5 separate regions of the Homo sapiens genome follow, and regions 2, 3, 4 and 5 are each linked to region 1. Evidence: promoter capture Hi-C in 16 types of primary human blood cells and fetal thymus (Javierre and others, 2016). All regions are on one chromosome and are shown on one strand. The core of a region is centred on a gene start or on the middle of the fragment in contact, and the rest is flanking DNA. Distances in the headings are between cores, read along the strand shown.

What was found. Contacts are between HindIII fragments. The CHiCAGO score rates a contact against its expected background, and 5 or more counts as called.
Region 2: the fragment with the promoter of ARF1 here is called in contact with the fragment with the promoter of PARP1 in region 1 in 1 of 17 cell types (neutrophils); the score reaches 6.8 in neutrophils.
Region 3: the fragment with the promoter of C1orf35 here is called in contact with the fragment with the promoter of PARP1 in region 1 in 1 of 17 cell types (naive CD8 T cells); the score reaches 7.5 in naive CD8 T cells.
Region 4: a contact is called between a fragment that was not itself captured here and the fragment with the promoter of PARP1 in region 1, in 3 of 17 cell types (M2 macrophages, M1 macrophages and M0 macrophages). The highest score is 6.9, in M2 macrophages.
Region 5: the fragment with the promoter of GUK1 here is called in contact with the fragment with the promoter of PARP1 in region 1 in 1 of 17 cell types (neutrophils); the score reaches 5.2 in neutrophils.

Annotation. Positions count from the first base shown.
Region 1 is chr1:226,406,807-226,409,506 of GRCh38, forward strand. PARP1 (poly(ADP-ribose) polymerase 1) reads right to left here and starts at 1,287. Exons shown (of 23, transcript NM_001618.4): 1 at 1,004-1,287. The coding sequence starts at 1,123. RefSeq lists silencers at 862-961, 1,212-1,471, enhancers at 1,502-1,631, 1,810-1,954 and a cis regulatory region at 1,882. The HindIII fragment of the contact is 6,506 bases long and covers 137-2,700 here.
Region 2 is chr1:228,081,381-228,084,080 of GRCh38, forward strand. ARF1 (ARF GTPase 1) reads left to right here and starts at 1,328. Exons shown (of 5, transcript NM_001658.4): 1 at 1,328-1,385. RefSeq lists silencers at 625-754, 765-1,584, 1,615-1,714. The HindIII fragment of the contact is 7,793 bases long and covers 1-2,700 here.
Region 3 is chr1:228,102,010-228,104,727 of GRCh38, forward strand. It overlaps C1orf35 (chromosome 1 open reading frame 35), which reads right to left and starts at 1,316. Exons shown (of 8, transcript NM_024319.4): 1 at 1,125-1,316; 2 at 890-1,040; 3 at 634-679; 4 at 469-551; 5 at 301-373; 6 at 71-156. The coding sequence starts at 1,218. RefSeq lists enhancers at 1-82, 83-802, 803-1,523, 1,524-2,243 and silencers at 151-230, 481-650, 811-1,080. The HindIII fragment of the contact is 8,620 bases long and covers 1-2,718 here.
Region 4 is chr1:227,438,781-227,441,480 of GRCh38, forward strand. No RefSeq gene overlaps it. Among named protein-coding and RNA genes, the nearest start is that of LINC01641, 47 kb to the left of the region's middle. The HindIII fragment of the contact is 6,782 bases long and covers 1-2,700 here.
Region 5 is chr1:228,138,905-228,141,604 of GRCh38, forward strand. It overlaps GUK1 (guanylate kinase 1), which reads left to right and starts at 1,375. Exons shown (of 8, transcript NM_001159390.2): 1 at 1,375-1,459. The coding sequence starts at 1,399. RefSeq lists enhancers at 1,002-1,051, 1,162-1,391 and a silencer at 1,402-1,961. The HindIII fragment of the contact is 28,593 bases long and covers 1-2,700 here.

The sequences.
Region 1 (2,700 bases), core at 37-2,536:
TGGGTATCCACTCGGTAAATGTCGCCCTCCCTTGTACTAAGTACTGAAAATCCACTGAGGGATATCTGGTCATTCCTAAAACACATTACAGCTCATGGAAGGGAGGAAAATCAAGCTACCTTGACCATGAGCACTAAGCTTGGGTAATATGTTGGAAGCGAGGAGGAACAGGGCAGATGAGAACCAGAATTATTAATACAAAGGTAGACATCGGCAAACTGGAAGCTGGAGGCAGGAGCCCCTGGGAAATGACAGGGGCCTTCAAGCCCACCACCTCACAGAAGGCTCAGGAAACCTCAGAAGGGGATTCAATCTATCAAAAAGCCCACATGAGAAACCCCCCTGGAGCCACTCTTACTCAAACCAGACAGCTGCAAATGCACCAAGAGAACGCGTCTGTGAATCTGGAAAATTTGGGGAAAATGTTACTTTAAAGCACAAATTAGGCTCAAAGTGAATGTACTGTACAGAAATGACACCTTTCTGCATAGTTCTGCCTAATTAAAATAAAAAATGAGAGTGAGCGTTTAAATGACGTGTTGAAATGACTGCCAAAAATAGGTTTAACAAAAAAAAAAAAAACCCACATGTCAGTCGCCACCATCCATGTAGAACAAAAACCCTCCAGAACAAGATAGGTCAAAATCAGATTAGCTTAAAGAGACCATGTACAATTCCCCCCCAACCCCTGAGGCGAACGGCAGTAATAAAACACCGCCACCCAGAAAGGAGAAGAGAAGAGGCTCCTCGTTTTCACAAAGCGAAAGGCAACACCAGCTGCAGACTTTATTTCCCGGGCTTTTCCTGCAACATCAGCAAAACCTTCCGGAAGGGTCGGCCGGGCCGCTCGGGAGGAGGGGCGGCCGCGGCCCCATAGGCCCCAAGTGCCGCTCCGAGGGCCCGGGCCCGCTCGCTCCCTGGGCCCGCCCTCCCCCAGCCTTCCCGGACACAGTTAACCCGGGGCGCCGCGTCCCCGCCCCGCCGCCCGCACAGCGGCCCGCACCTGCACCATGATGGCCATCCGGAGCGAGTCCTTGGGGATGCTCTCGCTGCATTTCTTGCAAGAGGCGCGCCCGCTCTTGGCGTACTCGACTCGATAGAGCTTATCCGAAGACTCCGCCATCCTCCCCTAGCTGCCGCCAAAGCTCCGGAAGCCCGACGCCACGACCTAGAAACACGCTGCCGCCTCGCCGCCTCGCGTGCGCTCACCCAGCCGCAGGCGCCTGAGCGGCCAGAGCCGCCACCGAACACGCCGCACCGGCCACCGCCGTTCCCTGATAGATTGCTGATGCCTGGCCGCGGGAACGCCCACGGAACCCGCGTCCACGGGGCGGGGCCGGCGGCGCGCGCGCCCCCTGCCGGCCGGGGGGCGGAGTTTCCCGGGCGCCTGCCGGGTGGAGCTCTGCGGGCCGCTGCCCTGGGGGCCGAGGCGGGGCTTGGGCTGAGCTAGTAGCTCTTTGGAGGACCCGGCGCCACCCCTTTGATTGTTCTGTCCCAGGAAGTCTTACTTGATTTCACAACTAATTTTACCCCCAACCCCTCCCCCTTTTATTTTTGAGACTGAGTCTCACCGCGCTGGAGTGCAGTGCCGCCATCATGGCTCACTGCAGTCTGGAACTCCTGAGCCCAGCGATCCTCCCACCTCAGCCTCCCGAGTAGCTGGGACTACAGGCGCTCACCACAACTGGCTAATTAAAAAAAAATTTTTTTTAGGGACAGGGTCTCGCCAAGTTGGCTAGACTGGTCTCAAACTCCTGCTACAAGTGATCTTCACGCCTCAGCCTCCCGAAGTGCTGGGATCAGGGGCATGAGCTACCACGCCGGCCCCAAACTCTTAAGTGTGTCCTCTCTCCCCTGAGGGCAGCTGGGTCCGGGAAGCGCAGGCCCCCGCCTCGGGAATATAGTTGATTGGCCCGAGGTGGACCCTGCAGTGCTAGGTCCACCCTCCTGGCTTGGACGGGCGTTCTAACCTGCCGTCCACAGACCGTCGGGACAAAATACCAACTGAAACCTAGCATTTCCTTTATTATGAATTTGACTACAAATACCAGGAGTATTAGCAGTACCTGTGACTTTGTGGGCAATAGTCATCACAGACGTTTTCATGTTACTTTACAGTTGTTGGTGATAACTCGAAATATTATTAAGCTCATCACTACTCGAAATTGTGGTAATGACTGCACCTGTTGCTATCAGATATTTTGTGTGTGTGTGTGTGTGTGTGTGTAAAGAAAGAGATGGGGAATCTCTCCATGTTGCCCAGGCTGGTCTTGAACCCCTGGCCTCAAGCAATCCTCCCACCTCGACTTCCCAAATTGCTGGGATTACAGGCATGAGCCACTGCACCTGGCCTAGATCTTGTTGTTTAATATAGAACTATACTTCAAAATATAGTTTATTAAAATTGGTTTCTTTTCTAATCCTATGCATTTTTTTTTTTCATTTCAAAGATTGTAACATGAGTGTGCTTTATTTGAAAATATTCAATTCTGGTATAGAGGATAAGAAAAATAAGCAGATGAATAAAACTCATAAAAAGTGTTAACCATAGAGAAGAAGCTAGTGGCTTAAGAGACAAGGATGTTGAGTAAGCAAGAAGGTTGTGAGACATAGGCCGAATCCTAAAAGTTAGTAACCAGTTAGATACGTTGAAGGTAGGCTGGGCACAGTGGCTCATGCCTATAATCCTAGCACTTTGGG
Region 2 (2,700 bases), core at 78-2,577, 1.7 Mb after region 1:
CCAGAAGGTTCCACAGGCATCCACAACCCTCCCTGGGGCTTTCCAAGAGTATCTGAGATGCCTGTAGGGTGGGAGACGTCCTTCCCCTAAACAGACAACCCTGCCACAGCTTCACAGAGGTGAGATTTCGGAAGGGAGCCCCAGGCAGAAAAAGGGACTAAATTTGGGGGCAGGAGGGTCACCGCTTTTGGGGACCTTCGTAGCCCCCGCAGGTGCAGCCCTGGGGGAGAGATCTGCCCATCGCAGCCTCCAGAGGCAGTGAGGACGCCCTGCCCAAGGGGCAAGCAACGTAGGTGATGGGGGCAGCAAAGGGGCGCAGGAGGCCTGGGCCAGGCCCAGTGATCCCACCCCTCAGGCCCTGCCCCCGGGCCTCGGCCTGCACAAATCAGGTTGATTCCCGACCTCCACAATACCCAGGGCACTGTGCTGCAGGGACACTTTCCCACAAGCCCAACCCCTCACAGCAGCACAAGGGAAGAGGCAAGAAGACCTGAGGGTGGTGGGCAGAGCCAGGCCTCCAGCACACGGAACACAGAGGGACTGCAACGGTCCTCTGTTCAGGTGCCTGAGAGCGGGATCTCCTCCGCCTCAACTGGATCTCAGCTTAAAGGCCAGCTCATTAGAGACCACTGTGACCTCCCTTCTGGGCGGCCGTCCCCAACCCTGGGCCCCACCCCCACGGCCCCCGCCTCACCCCGGGGTCCCCAGGCCACCTCCTCCTTTGCTTCATCTGCGGCCAGCTCCCCGGCGTCTGCTCCGGGCCCAGGTATGAGCCCGCGCGTCACTGCGGCCGCCGGGGCGCCGAGGCCAGTGCGGGGACACAGCAAGCCTCCCGCCTTCGGACCTTCCGCCGTGGCCCCGCGAGTGCCACAGGTTTCCACAGGGCCGGGGCACGTGGACCCGCGCAGCCTGGGAGCCAGGAACCCCAACCCCGGCGAGGGGCGCCTCGCACCCCCGTCCTCACGCAGTCCCCGAGGCCTCCCGGTGACTGCCGGGTGTGGGAGGAGGAAGGTGGCAACCAGCCCCGCAGCTCCAGTTGCTGCAGGAGCCCCCCGGGCCTCAGTCTCCAAATACGCCAAACGGGCGGGAGTGAGCCACAGGCTGTCTTCGCGGAAGACTCACAGGCGCAGGCGCAGACGGGTGCGCGCCCCTAGGGTGCGCGCGAGCTAAGACCGCGGCCCGGGGCAGGGTGTCCCCGGCCCCGCCCCCTGCAGCCCTACCGGAGCCAGCGCGCCTGCGTCGCGGGCGCACGGTGGGCGGAGTTCCCGGCGTCTCCGCCCCTTACCCGGCGTGCCCCGCGCCCGGAGGCGCTGACGTGGCCGCCGTCAGAGCCGCCATCTTGTGGGAGCAAAACCAACGCCTGGCTCGGAGCAGCAGCCTCTGAGGTGAGGGCGAGGGGCGCGGGCCGGTGTGGGCCGCAGAGACGTTGGAGCCGGCGGGGGCTGGGGACTGGCCTCGGGGCGACTTGAGGTTCGCGAAGGGCACGTCGACCCCCGCGGCGGCGGCGGCGACAGGGCCGGGCCGGGGGCGGACGCAGACGGGCCGGGCTGAGGCTGGGGCCCGGCCGGAGTCGGGGCTGGGCGGACGGGCGGGTCGGTGAGCTCCTCGCACCCCTCACAGGTTCCCGAAGTCGCTCGCGGCCGCTTGTCCTCCTCTGCCTGTCCCTGCCCCCGCCCGTCGCCCGGAAGTCCGCTTGGACGCCGGGCTCTTCTCCAGGAAACCTGGGCTTCCTGCTTCCCTCGCCTCTGCCTTTCTCGTTTCCCGAGGCCGCCCGCGCGTGGACGGTTGGGATTAGCGGCCGCGGGGGCCGGTGGGGGTCGTGGGGCCTCCCCCACCCGAGTACAGGCGAGCGAGCGGCATCCGGGCGGACCCCCGCCTCGGGGACCGGGAAACTGAGGCTCGGGCGGCCTGAGACGCCGTCAAGGTCATGTAGGTGGTGGGGGCTTGCATCTTCGCCTCCCGACTCCATCCAGTTCGTGTTTGCTGTGAAGACGGTACCGGGTCAGGGGTGGTGAGAGCGGGCGGGCAGGTGGACAGGAACCCCGTGCCCTTCCCTGTCTGCTGAACGGAATGCGTGGACCTCCGGGGGAGCCCAGAGTGCCTCCCTTCACACCAGTGAGACGCAATTTGGGGTCAGCACTCAGGGCACCGGTGGCCTCCAGAGGGCCGGTCGATCTTCGCTTTAACTCCAGGGTGGTTTCCTTGACGTTGTCGGCAGTAGATAAGAAGGCCTCTTCTGAGCTGGTGAATCTTTAACCTACCTGAATCTTTAACCTGCCTGCGGAACGACCTGCTCGCAGACTCTAGGCCGCAGAGGCCGGCCCCAGCGCTCTCTCGGAGCACAGCCTGGGTGGTTACGGCGTGTGAGATTGGGGCTGGACAGCCGTGCGCACCTAGAGTGTTAAATAACCATTCCGACGGCACCTCCTGGCACTCCCTTTCAGTCCAGGCAGCCAGTTGCTGCTTTGCAGGAATTGAGCAGAAATGCACTCGGAATCGCGGGCAGGAAAAGAAGGGAGGTCGGAGGCTTTGGATGGTCCCCGAAGTCGCCGCCTAGTTGAGAGCTGTAGAGTTGGTGCCACTGCCCCTGTTGGAGTGGGCAGTTGTAGTTCTTGTTTCAGAACTAGTGGTCAGCAGTTTTCTTTGCCGGCTGTTGCAAGGCTGGTGGTTCTGGCGTTTTCCGCAGTGTGTTGGGAGGAG
Region 3 (2,718 bases), core at 66-2,565, 1.7 Mb after region 1:
TGGGAGCCGCTCCGGTCCTCCCGAGACCCCCCACCCCGGGGCACAGCTAGCCCAGGTGGCACAGCCTCACCTGCTTTCCGTCTGATCCTCCGCCCGCGGCTTCCTCCTGGCCGAGGCTGCCGAGGTCCCGGGCCCGCCGCTCTCTACGCGGTGATGCTGCGGGAGAAGCGAGCTCTGCGGAGGAGTCTGCGGGCCGGCCCCACACCACGCCCCGCAGCGCCCCGGGGAGCTCCGTTCAGTGCCCCCGCCCCGCCCCACCCCTGTTAGCCCCTGCTGCGGTCAGGCGGGGCGGGGGATTACCGTGAACACAGACAGCCCCAGTTTGGCGGCCTCCTTGTCCTCTCGGGACATCGCCACGCGGCCCACGGAGCCACTGCAGGGACATGGCGATGAAGACAGTACGGCAGGGGTCCGCCTCACCCGAGCAATCGAGCCCAGTGCTGCCCTCCCCTGGAAACCCGCCCGCACCTTGCGCTCCCCAGCCCCAGCAGCCGGTCCACGCCCTTCTCCTCGGGGTCGCCTCCTTCCCGCTTGCAGACCTCCGCGAAGTCCTGCAGGTGCGAGAGCACAGGGAGCGCTCGAGTCGGCCCCACACCCACGGCCCTCCACGCGCCCCCCACCCCGGGGAGTTACCTCCTTGCTCAGGCCCGTGGGCTGCTTCTTCACGTTCTTGTAGCCACTGCGAGAGGGCCGGGGCAGGCGTCAGGACGGACGGACCTCCTCCCACCACAGGTCCTCACCACTCCAGCCTTCGTCCTCAGGGTCCCGCCCGCGCGAGTCCCCGCAGCCCCGCTCCCGCCCAGCCCGACCCCCAGTCCCCGGCCCCGGCCCCACCCTGCCCCGGCAGCGCCGTCCCAGGCACCGACCGCTGCCGTCCGCGGACACTCACAGGGCGGCCAGCAGCGCCTCGCGCTCCGCCTCCCGCACGGCTGCCAGTTCCTCCTCGCGGCTCGGGCCCGCGCATGGCGCCCGGCCCTTGGCGTACCAGGTGAGGTCGCGGCCCTTCTGCCAGCGGCCTACCGGCGCCATCAGCGAGTTGCCTGCGGACGTAGACGCTGTGAGTCCAGCGCCCGCCCGGGATCCCGGAGCCCGGAGCCCGGAGCCCGCCCACCGCGCGCACCCACCCAGGTAGTTCTCCCGCTGCTTGTCAGTCTTCACGTCCTCCCAGTTGAACTGGTCCTGCCCGCCGCGCACGCCTCCACGACTGGAGCCGAACATGGCGCCGGGAAGGCAGTTGCCTGGGGCCTGCGGCTTGCAACCTGCAACCCGCAACCCGAGACCCGCTACCCACTACCGTCGGACCCAGGCCCGACCCCGCCTCCGCGTCGCGCGCCGTGACGTCACTCCCGCGCCCACTCGGCTTCGCCGCGCGCCTCTGCGCAGCGCACTGCCCCGGATCTGTGCTCCCGCGCATCACCTCCACGTCGGCTTTGGGCGCCTGCGCACTGCGCCTACCCTGCCGGGCGCGGGAACGCCTCTGAACTGGAAGTTTAAAAATGGTTAAAACGGGGCCGGGCGGAGTGGCTCTCGCCTGTAATCCCAGCAAGTTGGGAGGCCGAGGCGGGCGGATCGCTTGAGGTCGGGAGTTCGAGACTAGCCTGTCCAACATGGTGAAACCCGGTCTCTACTCAAATACAAAAATTAGCCGGGTGTGGTGGTGCACACCTGTAATTCCAGCTACTCAGGAGGCTGAAGCAGGAGAATCACTTGAGCCGGGAGGCAGAGGTTGCAGTGAGCCGAGATCGCGCCACTGCACTCCCGCCTGGGCGACAGAGCGAGACTGTCTCAAAAATAAGAAGTTAAAATGGGCCAGGCGCGCGCGCGCCCCTGTAGCCCCAACGCTTTGAGGCTGAGGCGGGAGGATCTCGAACCCAGGACTTCGCGCCACTGCACTCCAACCTGAACGAGTGAGCGGACCCTGTCTCATAAAAAAAGAAAAAAGAAAACACACAAGATGCGCCTAGTTAACACCGCCAATTGGTCACTGCTAGTCGCGATTCCATATCGGGAGCTTAACAAGGTAATGACCTTAATGATTTGTGGAATTTCTGAGTATTACCCAGTAAACTTCTGGATGAACCAGCAGCTACCCAGACACCCTCAGAGCACTGGTCCTATCCCTGCCGTGTTAAACTGAATGTGCACCCTAACTCCCATGTGAAATCCTCACCCCAAGGCGTTGGTGCTTCGGAGGTGACTAGGTCATGAGGACAGAGCCTTCATAAAAGGGACCCCAAGAGCTTTGTGCAGCTTTCTACTGTGTGAAGGCAGCGGGAAGGAAGTCTGCAGTCTGGAAGAAACCCCTTACCAGAACCTCAGCGTGCTGGGCACCCTGATTTTGGAGGTTGTGACGTACCCCTGCTTCCCCTTTCCACTTTCATTCCCAGTGCTGACTGAGAAACAGAGTCCCTTGGCCACTCTGTGACTTCGCCAACTGTATAATTTCCTCTGCAGACTTGAACCCGAGCCATAGCCATGAACGTTCCCAGGCACAGATGACAGTAACTAGGTTGTTGCTCAAAACACAGAAAGAAACTGGACTCAGCCTGAGCCAGATTCCTCAAACCCTCATATAAATTCCATTCACCAACCCCCTCCCCCACGGACATACCTAGAGAGAACTTCATTTCTCTCACTGCCTATTGCAAGAACTGCTGCAGCCCACTCTGTACAAAAGCCCCACGAATAAATGCTCTGGGCGAATCACCCTGGCATGCT
Region 4 (2,700 bases), core at 149-2,648, 1.0 Mb after region 1:
ACTCAATCAGTTGGTAGGGCACAGCTGCCATGGGAACAGAGAGTGAGATGGGTAGGCAGAATTAGGACACCCCAAAACATGGCTTCGAACACCAGTTGTGCTGTGAAATTTTGAGACACGTATTAGTACACTTAAAAAAAATCTAGAGATGCAAATTTCAAGTTGATTTCCAACCAGGGCGTGGACAGGGTCACTATAAGAGCAGAGAATATAGCTTCTGGGTTGGGATACACACTGATGTGCCCCTTCCCAAACAGTGCCTCTCTTTCCCACAACTACTGGAGCACGGAGTAATGGAAATCGTGTACTGCTAAGTTATAAGCATATGTAAAAACACAAAACTGGGCCAGGCACAGTGGCTGGTGCCTGTACTTTCAGCACTTTGGGAGGCTGAGGTGGGAGGATTGCTTGAGCCCAAGGGTTTGAGACCAGTCGCTACTGAGGCAGCTGAGGCAGGAGGATCCCTTGAGCCCAGGAATTCTAGGCTGCAGTGAGTTATGATCAAGCCACTGCACTCCAGCCTGGGTGACAGACAGCAAACTTCTCTTCGAAAAACAAACTAACAAAAAAAAAAACAACTCACAGAACTGTACAAAACACCACATCTGTTCCCCTCTTGACCTTTATTTTCACCCCAGCCCACAGGTAAGATACAACCACCAGTCCTGTCTCCTAAATCAGTGGTTCTTAAACTGTTGTTCCCAATCAGCAGCATCAGCGTCCCCTGGGAGCTTGTTAGACATGCAAAGCCTGAGCCAGGTGCGGTGGCTCACACCTGTAATCCCAGCACTTTGGGAGGCCAAGGTGCATGCATCACCTAAGGTCAGGAGTTCGAGACCAGCCTGACCAACATGGTGAAACCCTGTCTCTACTAAAAATACAAAAATTAGCTGGGCGTGCTGGCACAGCTTGTAATCCCAGCTACTTGGGAGCTGAGGGAGGAGAATTGCTTGAACCTGGAAGGCAGGGGTTGCAGTGAGCCGAAATCGTGCCACTACACTCCAGCCTGGGCAACAAGAGTGAAACTCCATCTCAAAAAAAAAAAAAAAAGAAAAGAAAAAAGAAATGCAAAGCCTCAGGCCTCATCCCATTATTACTGAATCAGAAACTCTGGGGGTGGGTTCCACAAATTTGCATTTTAACAAGTTCTCTGGGTGATTCTGATACACACACGAGCTTGACAACTGTTCCAAATGCAGATGCTGAAAGCGCATACAAGGATGCAGTTTGTTGGCTAAAAGATGTCAAACAAGGGTGTAACCAAGTCTAGCTAAAACGTGAAGCTCTGGAATCAACACCTTCCTCCTGTAACTTCAACTCCCTCAAATGTCATATGATGTGGCGTTTTGGTCCAGACCACCCCAGCAGCTTTAGTGGGGTCAGCCCACCTCAAGAGCCTGGTTATTTTCTCCGGGAACTGAAGCAAAGTTGTTGGAACAAAGCTAGTAATCCGAGGTAGAGTTAAATAGAGAAGTCCTTGGGGACCCTATATCTCCCTATTTTGTTTTCTAATCTTTAGGATCAGTAGTTCATTTCCTAATCCAGCAAGAATGGTTGGCAAGTCTGGGCTGTTAGGTGGGAGAAACACCGCCCTGGAACACTGAGATCTCGTTGTACACAAAGGAAACAGCGTGGTCCTGCTAACAGCTTGGGAACTGAGATAGCAACAGAACCACCAACAGAACCCCGTGAAAAGAGGACAAAAAGCCATTTATCGTATGGTTGTTCTTTTCTGATAAATATGAAAGTTACAGAAAAGTCTAAATAATACTGTAACTGAAACCTATATTCCCACCACCTTGATTAATAACTGTTAACACTGTGTCAAATTAAACAGCAGTTTTGCAAAGCTGTGAAAAACTGCATCTGGCAGTGAGCTGGGAAACAAAGAGGAAAACAGCTAGAATAGGGAGAAATGAGCTAAGTATTTCTGAAATAATTTTTTAACAAAGAATGTCCCCATTCTTTTATCAGAAAACATTTCAAATATGAAGTTTCCACAGAGCCACTAATAATAGTTTGTAAATTTGCGTAGCTGGAGGCTGGAGAGTTGAAATTTACAAGTAATGAAGAGCAGAAAAATAGCTGTAGAGGAAGCCAGCTCGTTTCCTTGGGGAAAACAGAATATGCTTTAGGACAACCCCCTACCCTCTGAAGAGAGCAGGAAAGAAATCAGGCTGGTTCAACAGAAATCCGGCTGCAGATCAAGAAAGTGTGAGGCTTTCCCATCGCTGTTTATGGAGTTGAGGCCAAACGCTGGAAGACCCACAAGAAAGAACTGTTACCCAGGGCATTCCCTCGCTGGCTGACCTTGGACTATCTGCTTGGTGTTACCCATCAAAGCAGAGGGGCAGTAAGAACATGCACTGAAGTAAGAATCATGAGCTATTAGTGCTTCTACCCAGGGTGGGGAAAACATGGAAGTGTGGAGGCTGGAGGGCTGCTTTCCAGAGGACAAGGTCACAGGGAGCTGAGCTGGCCAAGGAGCAGGCAGGAAGGGCTGTCATCTTTGCTCTGATTCAACCAGTTTTACAGTCACCATGGCAGCCCCTGTGGCAACATCCAGAACTTCTGAAATGATAACTCCTGCAGCTCTGAGGGTGTGTCTTCTGTTCTTTGACAAGTGCATTCCATTGCTGAAGGGGAACAAAATTTAAAATATTTATCCTGGCTGGGCGCGGTGGCTCACGCCTGTAATCC
Region 5 (2,700 bases), core at 125-2,624, 1.7 Mb after region 1:
TGCCGTGGCTTGATCTCGGCTCACTGCAACCTCCACCTCCCAGGTTCAAGTGATCCTCCTGCCTCAGCCACCCCAGTAGCTGGAATTACAGGGGCCCACGACCACACCCAGCTGATTTTGTATTTTTAGTAGAGACAGAGTTTCACCATTTTGGCCAGGCTAGTCCCAAACTCCTGGCCTCAGGTGATCTGCCTGCCTCGGACTCCCAAAGTGCTGGCATTACAGGTGTGAGCCACTGCACCCAGCCTTCAATAAATCTTTTTTAAAAATTTAAAATAATTTTTAGAAATAGAGTCCCGTGGCCAGGTGCAGTGGCTCACGCCTGTAATCCCAGCACTTTGGGAGGCCAAGGTTGGTGGATTACCTGAGGTTAGGAGTTCAAGACCAGCCTGGCCAACATGGTGAAACCCTGTCTCTACTAAAAATACAAAAATTAGCTGGGCGTGGTGGCGGGCGCCTGTAATCCCAGCTACTCGGGAGGCTGAGGCAGGAGAATCGCTTGAACCTAGGAGGCCCAGGTTGCAGTGAGCAGAGATGGCGTCACTGAACTCCAGCCTGGGTGACAAGAGCGAAACTCCGTCTCAAAAAATAAAAAAAGAAAGAAATAGGGTCTCGCTCTGTCACACAGACTGGAGTGCAGTGACACGAACACCGCTCACTGCAGCCTCGACTGCCCAGGCTCAAGCGACCGTCCCACGTCAGCCTCCCGAGTAGCAAGGACTACAGGCACAAAAAAGTTTTTAAATTTTTTGGTACAGAAGGGGTTTCCCTATGATCCCCAGGCTGGTCTCCAATTCCTGGCCTCAAGCGGTCCTCCCGGCTCGGACTCCCAAAGAGCTGGGATCACAGACGTGAACCACGCGCCCGGCCACATTCCCCAATTAATGGTTTTTGGAGAGTGGCCGGTTTGGAACGGGCTAGCGGAGTCGTTCGTTAGTTAGGTCCCTGCAGTGTAGATGGAGGACGGAAACGGCGCTGTGACATAAGCGGGAGGAGGCGGGCTGAGGCAGCGCTGTGACGTAGCAGATGAAAGCCGGGCCCGCGCTGCACTGAGGTACTTCTCTGAGTGACAAGCGGGACAAGTACGCCGTGGGCGGGGCCGGCGGGTCGTGATGTTAGTTCGCGCTGTGTGGAGGCGGGCCGGCGTGGCGCTGTGACGCAGCGGGAGAAGACGGGCTGGGAGGGCGCTGTGCTGAACGCCCCTGCGGTCGCGACAGGCCAGCGCAGGTGGAGGCGGGGCTAGCGAGGCACTGAGGTAAGTACTTCCCTAAGGGGCGGGGAAGAACGAGTGAGACATGGGCGGGGCAGTCGCCTCATGACGTCAGTCTCGCGCGCGGGCGGAGGTGGGCCGGTGCGGCGCTGTCACGTAGGTTCAGTGGGCGGAAGAGGTGGCCCCGGATGCTGCGGCGCCCGCTGGCCGGGCTGGCTGCGGCCGCCCTGGGCCGGGCCCCACCGGACGGTGAGTACGACAAGCGCGATCGCGAGGGTGACTCGGGTCGAGGCGGCAGCGGTCCCTGCGCTTTGCGGTCGCCCAGTCCACGCCGCCTCCGGATCTCCTCCTAGCCGAGACGCCCTGTGCCGCATTCAACTGTGGGCCCTGAGAACGGGGGAGCTCTGGAGGGCGGACGGGCTGGCAACGCAGCGGAGCCCGGGTCCCGGAGGGCGGGGCGCTCCTCAGGAGCTGGGCAGGCCGGCAGTTATCGCAGTGTCGAGCTGCTCCCCGGGCGTATAGGAGCGCTCGGTGTCTTCCCGACACCTGGGCGCGCCGCCAAAGAGAGCAGCTGGGAGTCCCTACCGCTGGCCCGGCGCGGTGTGCGCTCCGGTTCCCACCTCACCCTGCAAGCCTTGGGGTCCTGGGCGGATGGAGCCGGCTATTCCGGGGCTCCCAGGATTCTGCCTACTCCGCGGCACGGCGCAGAGACGGGGACTTGGGGAAACAGCAGGCCTTCCCGACGCATGGGTGTGGCATTTGGGGTTCGGATTCTCCAAAGCCAGAGTCCGGGTTGGGGTTCTTGAAGCTGCCCTGCTGCCATTCTTGAGCGTCGCCTTAGAAGTATGCCCCAGTAAGGACTGGTGTGGGAAGCAGGTGCCTCAAAGTTGATTTTGACCCTGCGTGTGGTGGGCCTCGGTTTCGTCTTTGCATGAAAGAGGTCGGTCCTGAGGCCCCGGGCTGGGTCCTGCTCTGCTGTCTTTGGGCTCATGGCCCCTTCCTGTCTCAGGCTTGCTCTGCTCTTTACCTGGGGTTGCTGTCGAGGACCCTGTGCAAGACTCGGCCGGTTTTTCTTTCTCCCTGATGGACAGACCCAAACATAGCCGCGCAGCATCGTGAAGGGCTGGGGCCTTCACTCCTCTGTGGCTCTGGAAGAGCCCGATTTCCTCAGGAGGTAAAGGAATGTTCCTGTCCCCCCCGGGGAAAGAAAGTGAAAATGAAAGCGCCCTGGCTGCTCCTGGTGTGGTCCCATTTAAAACGAGGTTGCTGAAGGCCAGGATGCGTGCTACCCGGATGTGTGCCCAGAAACCCTGCAGCCAAGAGCAGCCGCCTGGACCACCAGCCTCCCCTTCATCCACCTGGCCCAGCCCAGAGCCCAGGCCCACGTCTGGTGGTTTGTGTCTTACGAGAGGCCAGGCGGGGGCTGAATTCTCTCGGTTCTCAGAAGGTCAAGCCCTCTGTTAGCATCTCCTCGAACAGTGGGCCGGGGG